2 separate regions of the Homo sapiens genome follow, and region 2 is linked to region 1. The links are contacts of gene promoters, found by promoter capture Hi-C in blood cells and fetal thymus (Javierre and others, 2016). All regions are on one chromosome and are shown on one strand. Each heading gives the region's core, a stretch centred on a gene start or on the middle of the fragment in contact. The rest is flanking DNA. Distances are from core to core; before and after follow the strand shown. Region 1 holds the start of MYO1D (myosin ID). Region 2 overlaps MYO1D (myosin ID).

The links. The method cuts DNA at HindIII sites, captures the fragments that hold promoters and counts their contacts. A CHiCAGO score of 5 or more calls a contact.
Region 2: a fragment that was not itself captured here is called in contact with the fragment with the promoter of MYO1D in region 1 in 4 of 17 cell types (monocytes, megakaryocytes, total CD8 T cells and 1 more); the score reaches 7.2 in monocytes.

The regions. Positions count from the first base shown.
Region 1 is chr17:32,875,422-32,879,049 of GRCh38, forward strand. It overlaps MYO1D (myosin ID), which reads right to left and starts at 1,703. Exons shown (of 22, transcript NM_015194.3): 1 at 1,357-1,703. The coding sequence starts at 1,451. MYO1D-DT (MYO1D divergent transcript) reads left to right here and starts at 1,434. Exons shown (of 4, transcript NR_184086.1): 1 at 1,434-1,472; 2 at 2,423-2,540; 3 at 2,879-3,214. RefSeq lists silencers at 1,039-2,028, 1,235-1,422. The HindIII fragment of the contact is 7,647 bases long and covers 410-3,628 here.
Region 2 is chr17:32,669,052-32,672,679 of GRCh38, forward strand. All of the region lies in intron 16 of MYO1D (myosin ID), which reads right to left. Among named protein-coding and RNA genes, the nearest start is that of CDK5R1, 180 kb to the left of the region's middle. The HindIII fragment of the contact is 2,615 bases long and covers 734-3,348 here.

The DNA of each region.
Region 1 (3,628 bases), core at 453-2,952:
CCTCAGGACAACCCCAATCCTACAGACGGGAAGACTGAGGCACAGAGAGGTTAAGTAACTTGCTCAAAGATCACAGCAAGAATGCAGTGGAACTAGAATTTGAATCTCAACAGTCTGACTCTTAATCACTATGATAATGGGTATTGGTTATAGCTGATGTAGAGGTATATCATTTTGATTAATATTTGGGGTGATTTCTATAAAAGTTGTACATCCAAACCTTGATCAGAAATGTAACATCCTATCATTATGCTGGTATGTAATCAACCTGATTGACCCCTGTCAACTGGATTGACAGGGGTAGTTAATAATGAAATTAGGGTTAAGCACCCAAGCCTAGATTATGACTTTCACTTTATAAGCTTAAGGAATGATGTTTAGCTATAAACCTTAGAAGAAATGCAGCCAAAGCTTGCAGGGAAACATACACACGCACACCAAAACTCAGCTATTTTGAAATTCCACTTACTTTAATGTTTAAGTCAAACTACTTTAAAACTGTTTACATATTACTCTATCAAGGGTGAAATAATCGCATGTAAAGGGCTTTCTAAAACAAATCCACATCTTGGAAGCCCATTTTGGGGCGTTGAGTTGTGACTACGTTCTCAAGGATGTTAATAACACAAGAGCTCCATCCACTAACTCCTTGAAAAAAACCAAAACCATGAACGTCTTGTCAAATTCAGACAGTTTATCTTGGCACTGGCAAGTACAGCAGTCTCTTCGATGTCTGGAAACGTGTCTAATTACGTTTAGAGAGTAACTAAAAAAATAGCCAGTGTCCCGGAACAGACAGCTCAGGGATCACTCCATAGCATCCTGAATGACAGGATGGAACTACGCCAGGAGGAAAAAAAAAAGAAGGGCGAAGAAAGAAAGAAAAGAAGCAAGTGTAAAGCCGGGATGAGACGCCAGCCTCTCTCCAAAATAATCCTCCAGTCCTCCTAGGGCCTTCGGGGCCACCGCAACTCTCGTTCAAGTTATTTCCCTTCAGTTTCCATGAGGTCACCGGCCCGCCCACATCCCTCACCTGGCGCGGGGAAGCGCGCCCTCCCGCGCGGCACACCCTCTGCACCTAAACCCCGGACAGCGCCCAGGGCTCCCCTCTCAGGGAAGCGCGGCCCTTGAGCTCGACACGCCCCCCGCACCCCAAAGCGGCCGCACCCCAGGGGCGTCCGCTCTCGGGAAAGCGCAGCCGCGGAGCTTGGCAGACCCCCGGACACCGCAGCCCGGCCGCGCCTCCATCCCTGGAGCTTGGGCGCTCCCGACACCCCGGATCCGGCCGCGCCCCGAGGCGCCCCCTCTCGGGAAAGCGCAGCCTCGCGCCCCTGCGCGCGGCCGCTCCGCCCTCACCTGAGCCTGAGGTTGGCCATGAACTCGGGCATGGAGACGGTGTCCATCAGCACGAAGTCTGCCTTGCCGAATTCCAGGCTCTCCTGCTCCGCCATGGCGCCAGCGCGGGGGCTCAGGTGGGCGCGCTCGGGCCTCCGGGGCCGCTCCGTGGGCCCGCGATGAGCTCGGGAGGGGCCGGGGCGAGGCCGCGCCGCGAGGCTACGGGGAGGGGGCGCGCACGCCGCTCGGCGGGTCCGGGCCGGACAGAGGCCGCCTCGCTGCTCCTCGGCGCCTTCTCGGCCGGCGCGGCTCCGAACGGGACGCACCCGACAGTTTCCGCTCCTCCCGCCGCGGCTGCCGGGCGCTGTAGGGGCCGGGACACCGAGACGGAGACGGCAGCGGCTGGTCCCGCCTCCAGCCTGGGGCTCGTCCCGGCTCCGCCCCGCCCGGGCCTCCCGGCTCCGCCCCTCCCGGCCCACTGAGGAGCCCGCCCCAGCCGCGGCCCTGGCCGCCGCCTCTTCACCTGGGCGGCGCGCACGCGCGGGTGGGCGGCGGGGACGCGCGCTGGGCCGGGCGGCGGCAGCTGGGTGGCAGCGCCCCCTGGGGACAGGCGCTGGGATCTCAGGCGGCCAAGAGGATGGCCGCCTGCCGCCCACACTTGGTAGCTGCCAACAAAGTTAGAAAAGTAGTTCGTGGAGCTTTTCGCGAGGACAATTCATTATGATTCTGTCACCCTGCTCCAAAACCCACTCCCGCCTCTCTACTCACACCCTGCCCATTCTTGAAGTGGTGGTTCAAGCACAGACTGAGAGGTAATAATAATGGCTAACATTTTTGGGGCACCAAAAATGCCCAGAGCTGTTCTCAGCGCCTTAGAGAACTTTTAAGAAACTTGCCATACGACTAGGAAGTGGAGCAGCTGCGGTTTCACGCAGGTCATTTGACTTAGGAGCCGCAGCGTTCAACCACGTCTGACTACCTCCATTCTTCAGTGGCCCATTTTCTCTTCCACTCATCCGAGCATGTCATCAGACATTACCTTATATGATTATTAAGTTTTTAATATATCTTTGTATCATCTCTCCAGGATTATTGCGGATGTCTTGAGCATGGGACCATTCTTTTTGCATCCACCAAATAACTATTGTACTACTTTGCATATATAAATATGAAATCCATACTGGTTCAGTGGAATGAAGTGAGTTGTAAGTAGTCTCCAATTTATTGATACATTGGTTGAGCTTGGAAAATTCTTTTTGAACTCAATGTATTTTCCCAAAGAAAATATACTACAAATGACTTTCTTTCTTTTTTTTTTTTTTTTCTTTTTCTGGAGACAAATTCTCCCTCTGTCACCCAGGCTGGAGTGCAGTGGTGCAATCACAGCTCACTGCAACCTCAAACTCCTGGGCTCAAGCAATCCTCCAGCCTCAGCCTCCTGAGCAGCTGGGACTACAGGTGTATGACACCATGCCCAGCTATTTTTTTTAAATAAATGACTTTCTAAGGTATCTACATTTATTCAGTCCTGTGTTTCTGTTAGGACATCTTCTATTACAAAATCTACGAGGAAATCTAGAGGCCTCCAAGGACCTGGCTGGGCTTCAACTCTGGCTGAGTTTGAGATGAGTAAACCAGACTGAAGGACCTTGCCCAAGGCCTGCTTCAGCTGCCAGCCACCCACACTTGCTAAGAGAAAGGAAAGGAGCTTTGTCACCTCCTGAGGGACTGCCTCTGCCATCAGAAAACCACCCCAATCCCTGGCACCAGCAGAGCTGGGTTGCATCTGACTACCGTTAGCAGCTGTCCTTCAGAAGGAGGAGATCCACCTGTCTCGATATCAGTGTCCTCATTTGTGGAATAAAAGCTCTGGAATAAGGTAGGACTGTCCTATGGTTGGGTCATTTGTGGAGGTGTCGGTCAGTGGCTAAGTAGGTTATTGCATAGGGTATGGTTGTATTCCTAATGTTTGTATTGGCATGTTTTAACATAAGCAGAACTGAACTTCAAGAAGGAAAGAAAGAAATCTCAAACTGTATGCACTTTGGAGCATCCAGGGACCACACCCCAAAACCTTTTGGTAAATTATATATGTGTGTTCCCTGAGCTCTGTAGGTGTTAAAAATTAGGGCAAAATCCCAGGTACCAGGAAAAGAAACATCACGGCTTGCAGATGATGAGAGAGTTGCAGAAATTGTACAGTGGTTAGGAGCTATGGTGGGATACAATGTGGTTTCCAAATGGCCAAAGTAAGAGATCCTCATTTTAATCAACATCTTATATAGGAACCCAA
Region 2 (3,628 bases), core at 791-3,290, 210 kb before region 1:
CCATAACTGACTACAGATTTCTTTGTACACAGAGTACTAATGTTGAAGGGGATCAGGATATGCCACCCAAAATTATGCCACTTTGGCATAAAGATTATTTTGAGCTAAAGACAACTAAGAAATAGTAGATGTGGGAAAAGCTCTCTGCCCTTCCCCTATCTCCCTGAAAAGGATATATTTCCCATGAGAAAAGTGCCCTCTCCTTGTACTAGGAAGATAAGAACACTCTCACCACCAGAGAGGAAGAGTCCACATCGAGATGAGTCTACATAAATAGGTCTTACTAAAATAGCCTTTATCTTCCATTACTTCCTTTCATGCAGTTCCTAGTCACTTTCTCACAATTTACTGGCCCTAGAATCCCAGATCCCCTATCTCATGTCTAGTCACATTTTATTGCCTTTCTTTAAAATGGTATATAAGACCCTGAGTCTACCACTTCTTTAGGTTTTTCACTTCTTTTCTGTGAAGTTCCTGTGCATATAAAATCCTTACATCAGTAAAAATTGTATGCCTTTTCTCCAGTTAATCTGTCTTTTGTGAGTTAAATTTGCAGGCCCCAGGCACTGAATCTAAGCAGGTAGAGGAAGTGTTTTCCTGCTCTACAATTTCCAAAGAACCAGGTTCTATCCTTTTGGGAAGCAATGAAATCAAACAAAATAAAAGAATTATTCAAATAAGATAAAGAGTAATTATACCAGAAAACCTAGACTATGAAAGCTATTGTGTATAAAGCTTACTTTAATTAAAAGTCAAAGCAGTAACAGAAATGGGGTATTTTATACACATTTTATTTAGCTAATAAGAGGCATACACATTTGTCAGGAAAGACATTTTCTTTTTCTTTTTTCTTTTTTTTCAGGTGGAGTCTCACTCTATCACCCAGGCTGGAGTTGCGGTGGTGTGATCTTGGCTCACTGCAATCTCCATTTCCTGGTTTTAGCGATTCTCTTGTCTCAACCTCCTGAGTAGCCCAGGGTTACAGGTGTGCACCATCATGCCTGGCTAAGTTTTGTCTTTTTTTAGTAGAGACGGGGTTTTGCCATGTAAGCCAGGCTGGTTTCGAATTCCTGACCTCAAGCAATCTGCCCTCATTGGCCTCCCAAAGTGCTGTGATTACAGGTGTGAGCCACTGTGCCTGGCTGAAAGACATTTTCCTAAACCAAGTAAACTCATAGAAAATATCATTGTATCAGTGTGAATTTTCTGATTTTGATAATTATACTATAGTTACAGAAGAGAATGCTCTTGTTTTTAGAAAATATACATGAAATATTTAGGGGTAAAGGGTATTACATGTGCAAATTACTCTCAAATAGTTCCAAAACCAATTGTATATATACACACAAATAGATCTATATACACAGATATACACATATACAGATTGAGAGAGAGAGAGAGAACCAAAGAACAAGCATTGATAGAGGCAGGAGACAGAGAAATCCTAGGCAGACATAGGTGGGTCCCTGGTGCGACCTTACCTTCAAGCCAAAAACAGCTTAAAGCCTGAAGTCCAAGCTACAAGTCAAATCCATGGATGAGACTGAGAACCTGTCTTCCCATTTGGTGTGCTTTCCTTTGATTGATCCCCACCTTTCACCTATTTTACATATACCCTTCCCTGTTTTTACACCATGTCCACTTTCGACTGGTGCCTTTGTTTTAACCATGTTTGCATACTCACAAACCAATTAGCATGCACTCCCTTATCCTGTGCCTATAAAAGCCCCAGACTCAGCCACACTGGAGCGATGATCTGACCCGCCTGTCCCCTCTCTACTGAGAGCTGTTTTGTTGCTCAATAAAATGTTCTGCCTTTACCACCCTTCAATTGTCAGCATGACCTCATTCTTCTTGGATGCAGGACAAGAGCTTAGGACCAGATATTCAGAAAGGCTGTAACACTGACCCTCTGCCTGTGTCAATGGAGAGCAGCCACCCCATAGAAGAGAAGCAGTGGTGGTCCTGAGCTGGCCCAGGGCCATGCCTGTCCCGGAGCTGCAGGCCAGAGTGGGGCAAAAGGCTGATGGAGCTGCTAACACATCCCTGTTTGTTGGGCTGCAGATGGCAGAGCTAAAAGAGCTAATAAGCATATTGTAACACTCCCTTTGGGGCTCTGGAGTCATAGGCACCCCTGCCTGGGCATCACTGCATTCCCCTGGGGGTAATATGCCTGGTTTGGTCATGGACCCTGCATGGAGCTTGCTTCTATGTTGGTGCTTGGAGCGGCCAGCCAGATCCCATACTCGCTCGCCCACGTGCTCCCTCCTGCCAGGGGCTGAGTGCAGTGGGCCAAGTAGACAGGGTGCCCGGGCTGCGAGTCTAGCAAAGGGGCCAAGAAAAATCCTGTGTCAATATGATAAAGCAAATATAGTTAAAATTTTAACATTTGGGCGCTGGGGCGAAAGGCATAAGAATTCTTTATATTATTCTTGCAACTTTTCTGTAAATCTAAAATTATTTCAAAATAAAACAACAGGTATCTTTAAGGGATAGTGGAGAACAACTGCACAATGTATTTTTAACAATTTTACATAAGCAAGAGTGGTCATTATACCTTTTTTAAAAATTTGAATTTTCTTCTAAGGAGTTTGTTGTACTTGTGCTTTCTGAATATTGGTGAGTATATATAAAAATTGAAAATGATGGCAATTTTATGAGTATGTAAATTAGTCTGTGCTAATTTAAAAAACTGGAAACATGTTTAATGGATGCTAAGTTAATTCATATGTTAACCTGCACTGAGTTATATATAAAGGCTGTGCCATGTCGGGCCATATTGGAGCCTGAGGCAAAAGGAAAAAGTTCAATAATATGGATCCCGTCTTTATTTAAAAGTTTGATCTTTTGTTCACCACAGATTTGTTCCATTAATTTCAGATTTTTAAAAATATTGCATGAACATATTATCTATCCTGACCACATTTTTGGTACCGCCTTAAATTTTACATTTGAGTCCTGGCCCTGCATAAGGAAACAAAAATTACAGAACAAACATGATGTGGTATTTGGCAGATTGGAGGAAGGGAAGGGAGTGAGTGCCAGTCATGTGCTGGGCTCTGTGCCAGGGGACACATGCTATCTCATTTTAAGTTTTCCAATAGTCCCAATAGGCAGATGTTTTTAGCATTTTACAAAGGAGGATGTTAAGGTTCAAAGAGAGTGATATACTTTGGATAACACAGTAAATGATAAAACTGTATCTTAGCTCTGTCTGGCTCCAAGAATTGATCATGCCATCTCCTAAATGTATCACACTTAAAGCAGTCTAATGGTATATAAAGCAATAATGCCTATTATTTAATTTTCCCTCTGAGAGACTTGGACTTGCTATAATAATTAACAGGAAGCTTGGTTTCAAACATAATCCAAACTACTACACTACTACATTCTTCATATATACGCAGATAATTCCCAATCATAAAGGTTTTTTTTCGTTTGTTTGTTTTTTTGAGATGGAGTCTTGCTCTGTCACCCAGGCTAGAGTGCAGTGGTGTGATCTCAGCTCACTGCCACCTCCAACTCCTGGGTTCAAGCGATTCTCCTGCCTCAGCCTCTTGAGTAGCTGGGATTATAGGCATGCACCACCACACCCAGCTAATTTTAATATTTTTAGTAGAAATGGGGT